Linked DNA regions of Homo sapiens: region 2 is linked to region 1. Evidence: promoter capture Hi-C in human tissues and cell types (Jung and others, 2019). All regions are on one chromosome and are shown on one strand. Each heading gives the region's core, a stretch centred on a gene start or on the middle of the fragment in contact. The rest is flanking DNA. Distances are from core to core; before and after follow the strand shown. Region 1 holds the start of IGSF9B (immunoglobulin superfamily member 9B). Region 2 overlaps NTM (neurotrimin).

Region 1 (6,675 bases), core at 3,543-6,042:
AAGATTCCCAAGAAAAATAGGTCAGCTGCCTCCAGCAGACTGGGCTCACACCCATGGGCAGCGCCTTTTGGGGAATGGGCATAAGCTGCCTATCCAACCCCAGAGTCCTCTGGAGTGAGCAACTGAGACACAGCCACACCCTCAGGGAGACAGAGAGGCCCTGGGCTGGGGCCTGCCACTCTGGTAACCTCTGTGCTGCCTAGACTGCAGCACCAAGGGCACCGTGGCAGAGTGGGAGGGGATATGAAGGCAAGAAGTTGGCTCCAAGGGTCTCTCTGCTCTCAGGGCTGCAGCACGGAGAGGAGTGGCCCCCACCTCGTGTCTGCACACTAACTTCCCCACCCTGCCACTCCACGCACGTGCACACAAACACACAGGCACTCAAGCACTTGTGGGCAGGCACACATACAGATTTCACATGTATGTGCACACAGGCATACATGCATGTGCATGCACACGTATGGGCACATGTGCACACACATACAGGTGTGCACACATATGCAATGCACATACATGCCAGCATGCATACACACAGGGGCACATATATGCACACATGCAGGGGCACACACATATGTACACATATAGGAACATGTGTGTATGCGCACACACATGTGCACATGTATGCATGTGCACACACACACACTTCTGGACAGCTGGAAGCTCTCAGCAGTTGCAGCTCTTTGACCATTCAGATCCACTCTTCACACAAGCTGCTTCACCTCTTCTAGGAAGCAGGTGGAAGGGGACCGCTCCCTAAGTACTCTGCACCCCAACCTGAGAAGGCCACAGGATGTGGAGAAGAGAGCTACCTTAAATCTCAGGCCCAGCCCTCTTTGGAGCTTATCTCCCACCCCCACATCTTGAAGCACCCAGCAGGGCTGAGGAAGAGAGGGCCAAGGAAGAAGACACAGCCAGCACCCTGGCTGGGGAGAAGGCAAAGGTACAGGAGGTTGGAGTGAGGGCCAGAGTGATGCTGGGGCTCAGAATCTTCCAGCGAGGCAGCCTCTGCTCCTCTGTAACCAGATTCCAGCCTTCTGTCTCAGAGCCATAAACACGAAACCACTCAAGGTCTATCTAGGACCCTGCAACTCCAGGACCAGCACATGCAGGGCCACAGGCCCGCGGCTGAAAGCTGATTGCCCTCTGCCCCTCAGCCAAGCCCTTCTCACATCCCCGTCTCCCCAGCTTCCCACAGGGCACAGGCTGCCAGACACACTCCTGTCCCCAGCATGTGTGTGCTGAGGATACACACACACATCCATCCAGCCACTGACCACTTCCTGAGTGAAGTCCTTCTCAGCCGATAGGCTCACCACGGGGTCTTGATAGCAACCTCTGAGTCCAAACCTCCACCCTCCCATCTTCATTACCAAAAGGAAGCATAGGTCAAGGCCAGGTAGAAAGTAGAGGGCAATGGCCCAACTACCAGCAGGATCTGAGTCAGAACCTCACTGTATTTGGGGACACTGTAGTCAGGGATAATGTAACGACAGAATCTGTGGCAGACAGAGGAGGCAGCCGTGGGAGTAAAGTCTGGGACTTTCCTCCCCTATCCAAGGTCCACAATCAGCTAAGCACGGCCCAGGGTCCTCCCACAGAGTAGGAACTCCCCCGGGCTGGCTCAGCAGCCGTCTGAGATACTGAGTGCACACCAATCACTGTCTTCCAGGTTCTGGGTACCACTCCAGCCCCTCTCTTCTCCACACTTCCCCAACCTGTCCACTGACCTTAATCACCTCCCAGGCACACACACTCAAAGTCAAAAGGAGGAGCCCATTCCAACCTCTGTCCCGCACCCGAGGGCTGATGGAGTCGGGTCCCAACACAACATCATCCCTTTCCCCCTCTGCCAGAGCAGCCCCTGCTATGGCCAAATCCTAAGGGTGGCATCTCAAAGTCCCTCCTGCTGAGGGACTGCCCCAGAAGTCACCTCTGCCAGTCAGGGAACAGCTGAGCTCTCACAGGGAGACTCAGCAGCATGTGGACACTGGCTGGTGCTGCTCACACGAGCGGGCGCCCACCCGCTCTCTCCAGAGGCTGTGTGTTGCAAGCCCTCACTTCCCGGGCTGTGTCCTTCCATAAACCTCTGGCCACCAACAACACTCCAGCTTTGGAGACCTTGCAAAGGACTTCCGAGCAGCTTTGAGGCCCGCACATCCTGCACACGTGTCCCTGGGATGCCAGGGACAAGAGGTTCTGCCCAGACAAGGTCAGCCCAGAAAGGGGTCTTACTTCCTGACACAGGCAGCCTTCTGAACTTCCCCGCAACACATTCTCAGCTCCTAGTGCCCTGAATGGCCCAAGGGAAAGAAATTGAGGAGGATCTTGGAATCCCAGGGACACTGAGAAAATAATGTTAATGTTTACTGAGCACGTACTATATAACAGGTAGTTGTTTTGTTTCCTTATAACACTCATGTCCACCTAAAAACCCTAAAAGTACATGCTATTGGCACATTTTCTATTGAAGCAAGTGACATTTAGAGAGGTTGAGAATTTGTCCAAGGTCACAGGGTCGGCAGGTGACACAGCCAGAATCTGAATCCCAGTCATATGGCTCTAGACCTAGGTCCTTAACTACCACACACAGAGCAATTGAGGCTAAGAAAGACCCCAAGACCAGCAAGGTCACCCTCTGCTTCCAGACAGGGGTACATGTCCAGCCATTCCAGACAGAAGGACCCCTCTGCACCCTGAAAGAGGGCATAACCTTCATGCCAGGCAGCCTTCAATTTTGGGAAGCCCTTCCTTCTATCTTGCGATTCTGCGTGTTGCTGCAGTATAAACTCACATTCCTTTATTCTGGGCTGAAACTTGCAAAGAAGTCCATTGCCCACCCTGACTTAGGTTCGGAGGCTATTTCAGAGCCTTCCTTCAGCGTCTCTTTTCTATTCAAAGATCCCAGCTCATCCTTTTGTGCTTTCAGGGACAGTCCCATAGCAGGAACATACCAAAAACGGGAGGGGAGGAGGATGCGGGCATTGGAAGACGGCAAGGAAATGGGGGAGAGGATGAGGCTACAGGCAGACTGTCAAGCGCAGCCCGATGCACCTCACATCCACCCCCCGTTCCGTAAGCTTCCGCCATCACCCTTGCCTCAGTGTTCCCACCTGACAAATGAAGAGTTTTAAAACCGTCCGGACCAACATGTCAGTTAACAAAATCACCCTTCGCTTCGCCCTCTGCTCGTTCTGTTTTCAGACACCACCACCCCCCTCAGAAGCAGAGGCGACATATTCATTCCATTCCGGAAAGTTTCCTGAAGCACGCCCCCCTGCACAGACGAGTGACGAGGGGACCCCGTGAGAGGCGCCTCCAGCCCACCCGGCGCCCCATGCCGCTGGGAGAGGGTTCTCTGTCGGCGAGTCCTGCCTGCTGACTCCCACCCACAGCGGGTTCTCTCCCGCCGCCATCTCCTCCGGCTTGGTGAACTTGCCCGCAGCCGGGTCGTGTCTGCGCGCTGACAGCCCTGAGCTCACAGTCCTGGCACCCTCCAGGCTCCGCTCCCACTTCCATACAAGGGCCGAGAGCCGGGGGTGCCACCCAGAGGCTTGTAGGTCGCTCTGCCCATCTCCAAAGCAAAAGCCCGCGCGCTCACGCACGCATCACCCAACTCGGTGGCTCCCCCCTTGCGTCTCCCCCAGCTCAGACCCAGGAAAGCGGAAAGAGAAAATCCCCCCTCCGCTCGGATTCACAGCGTGGGGACCCCCCCTTCCCCGCCCCTCCCCTCCCCCGCCGCCGCCCCCAGCCAGCTCTGCCTCGCAGCCTGGGGAGGGCGGCGTGGGGCCCGCGCGGCTGCGGCGCGCTCCCGGGGAACTTTTGCCTGGCCGGGGCCCAGGTGCGGCTGAGAGGCGCGGGGGCCGGCGGGGTCCAGCCAAAAGCGGACACACCTCGAAGCTGGCCTCATCAATCCTCCTCTCACCGGGCGCCCCTGCTAGGGGGATCCGACCTCCAGCTGCCAAGATGTGTGGGCAGGAGGGGCGCGAGCGGAGCGATGGACGCCCGCAGGGCCGCGCGAACCCGGGGCCTTAGACGCGGGTGCCGCCAGTCCCAGGGATCCTCCGGGTCGCGCCTCCCTGCAGGCGCTCCTCGCGGCGCGGGGCTCTAGCGTGCTGCAGCCTGCCCGGAGACCGCAAACTCCCGCAGCCAGAGTTTCCCGCAGCTCTGGGAGGCGGCCGCCGGGCAGGAGGCGACGGGCTAGGCGCGCCGGTGTGCACCGTGGGGCCCGTGGTGGGCGAAGTCGACCCAGGTTCCACTGCGTCCTTTCCCCGAGTGCCCGGCAGCCCGTGGGCTCTGGCCCCTTCCCGCCCGCCCCTCCAGCCCACGGCCCCCAGGCCCTCCCCGGCAATGCTCCCGGGCCGCCTGGCCCGCGTCGGAGCCCAAGCCTCACCCGCGGGAAGGCGCGCCGGGGAGCTGGGGAACCGGGGGGCCAAGGAGCCGGGAAACCGAGGGGCCGGGCGCGAGGGGCCGAGGGCGCCGGGAGGGGCAGGGGAGGGACGCCGCACTTCAACTCACCTTCAGCCGCAAGCCCTCGGGTGCCGATCACACTTGCTATGAAAGTGGCCACATACCAAATCATAGTACTACCGCGCCAGCCCGGAGCCTCATCCTATCGCAAAGTGCTCCCGCGCCCGCACGCGCCTCGCGCCCGAGCGCCCGCCTCGCGCCCGCCTCGCGCCGCCTACGCCCCGCGCCGGTGCTCCTGCAGCCCGGGTGGCCAGCTCTCCATCCCTCCTAGGCTCCGCTCGGCTCGGCGCGCGCCTCCCCGGCCCCGGCGCAGCGGCACCTGCACTACTCGCCCGGGCGGAGCGCAGCCAGGTCCACGGTGAAGCCTAGCCGGGCCGGGCCTCCGGAACCGCCCCCGCCGCCCGCCTATTGGGCGCCGCCCGCAAGCCGGGGGTCCGATTGGCTCAGCCTTCCGCCCGTCGCGGCGCGAAGGAGGCGAGCCCATTTCAAGGTGCGTTGAAGTGTGGCGAGCACAGAGCCGCAGAATCATGCGCATTGCCGGGGAGAAGGTGGTATAGCGTCTCTGCCCGCTTCTCTCTCGGCTCACACTGCGTGGCAAGTTTCTGGTGAGGGAAATGGTAGCTTCTAACGGGACCCTGGCGGGTCTCAATTACCCCGGACAGGTCTGAGGGAAGTGGAGCCCCCGCCCACTCATGGAACCCAACATCCGGTTTCCATCCGGCAAAAAGCAGTTCCCGAGAGGACCATGCTGATTCTATGATGGGGAAACCCAGGAGCCGGCGGCCCGGGAGAGCCGGGGAACGTCCTTCGCCGGAGATCTTTTCAAAGAGGTCACGCGCCGCCTCCCCACCCCGTCTCCCTCCGCACCCAGACACGTCCCCAGAGCAGCGCACCACCCCCTCCAAACGTGATGCAGACCGGGGGATGACTAAAATGACCTCTCAAAGTCGCTAAGATTTAGAGTGAGTCATTGGCTCAGCTGCGAAGTGCCACAGACCCCTCAGGAACACTCGTGCACACACACTCCACCCCCAGTGCTGGTCACTGCTGCTCATCATTACTGAATCCCGACTCCAAGCAGTCAAAGTTGGGTCTTTTTCCCACTTCTCCTGATAAAGGCTGCTTCCTCACGCACATGGTTCCTCCCCTCTCCACCTTACTCGGAGCCCAGCCCCGACTCGGCCGCATGAAACCAAGATGGGTTTGGGGGAAGCTTTAGGAGTCTGGGATGGAGGAGACCCAGGGAAAGGGAAGGAGCTTCTCATCCTACAGAGGAATGTAAATAGGAAACTGGAAGGTCTTCGTATGTTCCAGTCTCCCTACCCTAGCCTGTCTGCTTCCCCTCCCCCAATACAGTTGTATTTGCAGAAGAAATAAATGAGTGTCATGGAAACATCTACTACAAACAATCACCTCACACCAGCGCTCAGAGGCTGCAGTGAAGATGTTTGTTCTTTCAAGGAGTGAAGGCAGTGGTAAGAATCACACCGCTCCCTGGGATGGGCTGTTGGCCAAGGAAGGAAGGCAGAGGGTCAGCGAGCGAGAGCTCAGGAATTTCATCCTCTCAAAGCACTCGTTAGCCACAAAGCCCTGGCTCCAGGACATGAAGCTCCCAAAACAACAAGAAGGAGACTTGCTTCTGGGAAAGCGTGCACACAGGTACACACACATGCACAAAAAGTGGCCTTGAACACCGGAGGTGGAGCATTCCCTGACACCGGAAGCCTCTTAGCTCACCGCCAGCTGGGAGGCAGAAAGAGGCCCCCAACAGAGCAGTCAGTGAGCACATGGATAAAGGTCGAGGGCCTGGATAGATCCAGAGAACCAGGACTGTTGAATAACCTTCTACCCTACCCACCCCTCCACCTGTGCAAACACACTCAAGATGCATAACTTGGGGCCATCTCTCCCTGAGCCATGATTTTGGTTCTCTTCTTGGGCAAAGATGCCTTTCTGGGGACAATGAAGTGAGCTGCTCCAGGTCTCATTGATGCAGTGATCTCCAGGTCTCATTGATGCAGTGATTTCCAGGTGGCATGACCCAGAATAACTCCACCCCCAACACACACACACACATATACATACACACACACTTACACACTTTCCCAGGGCCCCGGGACTGTAAAGACATATTGGAATCCATTTGCAGAATTGGTCATAACAGGATCCTTCTCCTCCCACAACCTCTAAGCAGCTAACTGTGGCCTA
Region 2 (6,795 bases), core at 1,353-3,852, 1.9 Mb before region 1:
TCTTCTAATCTGTTCATAGTCTGAAAACGTAGAGTCTTTACTATTTTTCTTCTCTCTTTTTCCTGGTTAATCCAACAAAAAATGTGTCAGTTTTATCAAGGAGCTTACTTCTTGTTTTATTGACTTTCCCTAATTTTTTTGTTTTTTTTCATTCTCTTATCATTATTATATCACTTGTTCTGTTTGATTTGAATTTAGTTTTCTATTCCAGTTTTTTAGATGTAAGCTTAGGTTATTGGTTGAGATCTTTTGCCTTTTTTTAACATAGACGTTTACAGGTATAATGTCCCTTAAGCACCGATTTAACTGCATTCCATAAATTTTGAATATGTCAAGTTGGTTGATAGTGTTGCTCAAGACTTGTGGTTCTGTTGTTTCTTGACAGTGGGGTATTGAAATCTCCAACTTTAAATGGTGACTAGTCTATTTTTTCTTTCAATTTTGTCAGGTTTGCTTGCTGTATTTTGAGATTGTGCTTTTAGGTATGCATACCTATATAAGTATTACATCCTCCTGATATATGAACTCTTTTATCATACTGAAATATCCCAGCTTGTCTTTGAAATAGTTCTAGTCTTAAAGTTTATTTTTTTCTGGTATTAAAAAAATTTCCTTTCCAATTTACATGCCTTCTTTCTTATGGTTACTGTTTGCATGGTATATATATTCATCCTGTTACTTTTAACCTCTTTTTAGCTTTGAATCTAACATGTAGAAACCTGAGATTATTAAATATTTTAGATTTTTAGATAGCTTATAAGAAATTGGATCTTACTTTTTTTATCCAATCTGACAATCTTTGCCTTTATTTTATTTTATTTTTGTTTCTATTTATTTGGTTTTTTTTTCAGGGGGTACATGTGCAGGTTTGTTACAAAGGGATCTTGCCTGACGCTGAGGTTTGGAATATGATTGAATCTCTCACCTGCATAGTGTGTATAGTACCTGACAGGTAGTTATTCAATCCTGTACTCCTCCCCTCCTTATATTCCCCCATGTCTATTATTCCCATCTTTATGTCCATATTTACCCAGTGTTTAACTCCTGATTATAAGTGAGAATAGGCAATATTTGATTTTCAGTTTTTGTGTTAGTTCACTTAGGGCAATGGCTTCCAACTGCATCTATGTTGCTGCAAAGGATATGATTGCCTTCCTTTTTTATGGCTGCGTAGTATTCCATGGTTTATATGTACCACATTTTCTTTATCCAATCTACCACTGATGGGCACCTGGGCTGATTCTGTGTCTTTACCATTGTGAATAACACTAATATCTGCCTTTTCATTGTGATATTTATATTATTCATATTTACTGGTACTTATTTTTATGACTGGATTTACATTTGACATTTTGCTATTTGATTTCTGTGTGATTTCTCTTTTTAAGTTCCTCTATTTCTTTTACATTGTCTTATTTTGTATTAAATAAATATAGATAAATATTATAGTGTACCATTTAATTATTGTATTAATATTTTGTCTATTTGAGTTAATGTTTAGTGGTAACTCTAATGAGTATGCTACACATTTTAGCTTATCACAATCTACTTTAGATTGATAGTAACTAAATTCTGGTAAAATGTGGAAAATGTCTGAATTTATCCCTCATATTTGAAAAAAAAGGTTTTTCTGAAAACTAAATTTCCGGTTAATAGTATTTTATTTTCCTTTTGGTACTTGAATATATGTTATCCCATTGCCTTGGCCTTCATTATTTCAGATGTGAGGTCACAGCCATCTTAAACTTCTCAGTGTTCCCCTATAATTTTTTTGGATGGCTATCAATTAATTTTTCTTATATGGTTGTTTTATTTTTTTCTTTGGTTCCAAAAGTTGGATGATTATATGTCAAGGTGTGGCTCTTTTTGTAGTTATCCTACCTTGGATTTGTAGAGTTTTTTAGATATCTAGATTAGTGTTTTTAATCAAATTTGGGAAGTTTTCACTATTATTCATTGAGTGTATTTTTTGCTTCCTCTTTGCTCTCCTTATGGGATTCCCATTATTATATATGCTGGCACTCTGAGGCTTTGTTTATTTTTCTTCTGTCTTTTTTCCCCTCTTTTTCCAACTGGGTAATTTATATGGATTTATTTCTACATTCATGGATTCTTTCTTCTGTCATCTCGAATCTGCTGTTGGGTCCTCCAGTGAGATTTTAATTTTCTCATTGTACTTTTTGTTTCCATAATTTGCATTTGGTTCTCTTTATACTTTTGTTTCCTTTGTTAGACTCTCTACATATGGATTTTTTTGTTGTCATATATTCCTTTAATTTCAAAAACATGGTTTTCTTTAGTTTTTTAAACATATTTATAAGAATGGCTTGAAATTTCAGCTGGTAAATTCAACATCTGGGGACAATCAGAGAGTTTCTATTGCCTACTTTGTTTTGTATGGGTCACAGTTTCCTCTTTCCTTGCATATCTCATACTTTTTTTAAGTGCACGTTTTAGAAAATATATTTTAGCAAATATTCCTAGCCTCACTTTTCCCGCAAAGGTTGTATTTTGCTGTTTTTTTCTGTTTATGTCTTTCCTTGTTTAGCAAACTGGCTAATCTGTGGACTCTGTCTTCTTTGCTATGCATGAACAGTCACTAATGTCTTAGGGATTTTTTGATGTTTTTAAATTTTCTTTAATTTTATATCCTGTTTTAATTTTCAAGTCTCTCTTCCCATAGGTTGCCCCCCAGGACTGAGTTGACATCCAAGGCTTAAACAGAAGTTGTGCTCAACCATCTTGAGCCAGTTAGTCCCCTTCTGATAGATTTGTGTATGGGTAGTGAAGCACCTTCAAAGTGCGGACCATTTCCAATGTCTCCTGATATTTGCTTCCTACTGAGTCCTGTCATGTCCTTTCTGCTCAGGTTTCCAGCTTCAGTGTCAACTAAGAATATAGGCCTGACTTGAGCCCTCTCCAGGCTATGGTGTGTTTGCATGCAGATTTGTACTTGCCTAGCCCTGAGCAGAACCTGGGGTAGTCATTGGCCCTCCCCTCTAGCCTTTGAGAGAATGACTTCTACCAACAGTGCCACTGGCTGTGGTGTCACTCACCATTCAAAGTAAGTGAGCCTCTGAACCAGGGCAGAGATGCCACTGGTCCTCAGGTATTACCCTACCCTGGAGGAACCTCCATGACTGAGCTGGGGCTGGAGTCAGAATACCACAGAGCCCCACAGTTCTTAACCGAAGTTCAGAAGTTTCACAAGAACATATGCTTCTCAGATTGTTAAGATTTCGTTCAATTACCACTCCACTGGAATGGTTGATTTTGTCAATTTTGCTCGACTTTATGCTCTGTTTTCTTGGACAGAATATTTGACAGTCTTCTTTCTTTGCCATAACAGAAGTCACTGGTCTTTATTTAGCACTGTTCTCAGACATTTATATTTGTAGCTTTGGGTGATGTTTCTTCAGAGTCCGCATGATATTCGTTATCACAGCTCTCTAAATTTGTAAGTACACTCTTAGTCCCACGTGGCCCTGCAAAGGACACTACCCACTCTTTGCGAGTTCCCTTGTGCTCAACTAAGAGCCCTCTAACACTTAGGTCCCTAGATCCTACCTCTGACTGTGAAGTAAATTACAAGTTCATGTTTGTTGAATATAATAATGTCAAAAGACAGTCCCTAATCCATGCTTCTCTTGAATTCCCTGGTTAAACTCAGGGGAAACATTCCACAGACAGCTTTATCCCTGAAGTTGTCATGTGGACTAGATACCTGTAACTGCATGGAATCAAGTACAGCAGGAGGAATCTAAGAAAATGTGCACTGTGGTCCTTTAAGATTTGAAAGATGCAATTCAAAGGCTGTTAAGACCTTCAGCTGGTGATAATTGGATTTGTAAGTCAGTGCAACATGTGATAAAAATGCTCCTGCTGGATGGGATCCCGGTTTTCTTCTATCCTTCCTATTAATGTGATAAATGTTACTGTCTCAGCTGATAGGGCCACGTTGGCTAATCAGATTGGAATCAAGTTTGAGTTCCTCAGGCTGGCTCCATGTGAAGCTCATGGGAAGATGTTAAAAAAATACTATAGAGAATACAAGGAGGACCTGGGTTTGCAGAGGGGAAAATTTTACTTTGATTAGGAGGCTTTGCAGCGTGGGGAAGACACATTTACCATAGACCCTAGTCACGTGCTGCCGCCTGGGCATGTTATATCTCATGGGGGACTGTGGGACATTATCTCCATTGTTACTGGGCACATGCCATCGTGGAGCCTGGGGAGAAAACAACAGCAGCTCTCCATGTGGGTTTTGGGGCAGAGAGGAGCCAAAATAATGTTGGAAAATTAAACCTCTCTTAATTAAAGCTGATGGCAAACAAACACAAGTAATAATGCACTACAGCTGGGAAGCACAAGTTCAATATGAAGCTGAACAGCTGTGAAATTGAGCCTTCTGGTCACAGCTGGGCCTGTGAGAAGGCCAGAAACCCTGGCAAAGGTGTTGACCCTGGCTGCAGGGCTGGCGGGGCTAGGGTGGGCAGCCAGAGTGGCTTGCTCTCCTGGTTGTTTTGGAGTTTGCGCCCGCTCCAGTGTCTAGCTCTCTTTGCATTTCCAGACTCCTTCTCACCAAGAGCACCCCTCTGTCCGATAGGATTATTCAGGGTTCTTCTCGAAGTGAACAGCGTTATTGCAAGCACTAGAATTGAGGGGATAGAGGGAAGATATGCTTTGTTGTTGTTGTTGGTTTTGTTGTTGTTGTTGGTTTTGTTGTTGGTGGTGGTTTTGTTGTTGGTGGTGGTTTTGTTGTTGTTGGTGGTTTTGTTGTTGGTGGTGGTGGTTTTGTTGTTGTTGTTGTTGTTGTTGTTGAGATGGAGTCTCACTCTGTCGCCCAGGCTGGAGTGCAGTGGCGCGATCTCGGCTCACTGCAACCTCCACCTCCTGGGTTCAAGCAATTCTCCTGCCTCAGCCTCCCGAGTAGCTGGGACTACAGGTGTGTGCCACCATGCCCAGCTAATTTTTTTGTATTTTTAGTAGAGATGGGGTTTCACCATGTTAGCCAGGAGGTCTCGATCTCCTGACCTCGTGATCCGCCCACCTCGGGCTCCCCAAGTGCTGGGATTACAGGTGTGAGCTACTGCACCCAGCATTTTTTTTTTAATGTAATAAATTTCCCACAGAGAGGGAAGGAGGATAGGGTATGTTTGTTTTGTGTTTTTAAAATTGTTTGCTCTCTGCATTTCCCCAAAGACATCCAGGCTGTGCCTTTACCGTCAGCTTGTTTCTTTGGTCAGTGTCTGCCACTGTGTTCCTGACCTACAGACTTGAAAGGCTTGTGCAGTTGTCCTGGCCTTCAGTATCTGAGGGGCACTGGTTCCAGGATTTCCCTCCAATATTAAAATCTGCAGATGCTCAAACCCCTTACCTAAAATCGGAAATTATTTGTAGAAAATCTATGCATATCCTTCTGTATACTTTTAGTCAACTATAGATTACTTATAATGGCTAATACAATGCAAATGCTATATAAATTTTTACTGTATTGTTTTGGATTTTTTTGTTGGTTTTGTTTTTGAATAGTTTCGATCCCCAGTTGGTTGAATCTATGCATTTGGAACCCGTGGATAAGGAGGGCCAGTCATATAGGGCAAATGTGGGACTGGCTTCTCTCTAAAGAGAGGGATAAAGTACACCTCAGATGCGCAGATACAGTCTGGCTGCAGTTACACTGGGATAGGTATATTCCGGACTTTCCCTGAAGTTGTCAACTTCTGACTCAGTCACATTCTTGACCTCTGAGCATGTAGCTATCACTTTCACTTGCATATTAGCCTTAGTCCTCTTACTCATTTGTCTGTCAGATTTAGTTGTTCTCTGTGGAGGTTAGGAACACACACCGACTACAGGCACTGAGTGTCAGGATTGTCAGGATGGACTAGACTATGCTGTGGAAACAAATACACCCTGAGATCCTAGTGGCTTCATGCGATAAAGTGAATTACTAGTCTCCTTATTGCCTGGAGTAGGTTGCACAGACCCACAGAATGTCTCTCCACTGACTGGAGACTCCTGTGTCTGAATTCCTTCCCTCGTGTGGCACCAGCACCTTGGAGTCATGGGATTCAGCTACAGAGGGGAGAGAGAGAGGCTAGAAGGCTGAGCAGTGGGGTAGCAGGAAAGATTGAGCAAGATGTTTCATGTCCAGGCCTAGGACTGGCCTTTCTCTTCATCTTCCATTGTCATGTAGTCATTCACATGCCGTTGGGCTCACGGTAAGGGAAATTGGAGAAAGAGGTCTGCCATCCTGTGTGCCCAGAATTTGGTGGGCAGGTGGTCAGTCTGTTCTACATTTTAGCAGTCTACCCAATTATTGAAGTCTTAGTGCCTGGGCTTGAAGGGATCTTTGGAAGCAATTTTGTAATTCTTTTATCTGCACCTAAAACCTTAGACTAGTGCTTCTCAAAATGTGGTCCTGGGACTTGGCAGTGAGCATCACTTGGGAACTAGTTAGAAATGCACATACTCGGGCCCCATTTCTGACCCATTGTACGAGAAATTCTTGGGGTTGAGTCAAGGGATCCACTTCAAGCAGCCCTCTGATGCTCCCTAAACTTTGAGAGCCACTGTCCTAGACCGGCAGTTCTCACTCCACTGTGACTACCCACTGGGATTGCCTGGGGAGCTTTGGAATGTTCTGATAGCTGGGTCCATAGCCACAGATTCAGACCGAATTGGCCGGGGGTGTGGCCTGAGCTGAAGATGAGAAGCATTGCCCTAGAATGATTATTGAGGAATAGCTTTTATCCTGAAGTTCTCTGTGAAAATAGATTTCATATGGCTCCA

The links. Contacts are between HindIII fragments. The study calls those that stand out against the background at their distance.
Region 2: a fragment that was not itself captured here is called in contact with the fragment with the promoter of IGSF9B in region 1 in 1 of the 25 tissues and cell types used here (dorsolateral prefrontal cortex).

The regions. Positions count from the first base shown.
Region 1 is chr11:133,952,176-133,958,850 of GRCh38, forward strand. It overlaps IGSF9B (immunoglobulin superfamily member 9B), which reads right to left and starts at 4,793. Exons shown (of 20, transcript NM_001277285.4): 1 at 4,516-4,793. The coding sequence starts at 4,579. RefSeq lists an enhancer at 1-476 and a silencer at 4,622-4,971. The HindIII fragment of the contact is 2,013 bases long and covers 4,379-6,391 here.
Region 2 is chr11:132,019,017-132,025,811 of GRCh38, forward strand. The region is part of intron 2 of NTM (neurotrimin); the gene reads left to right. Among named protein-coding and RNA genes, the nearest start is that of NTM-AS3, 130 kb to the left of the region's middle. The HindIII fragment of the contact is 9,113 bases long and covers 1-6,795 here.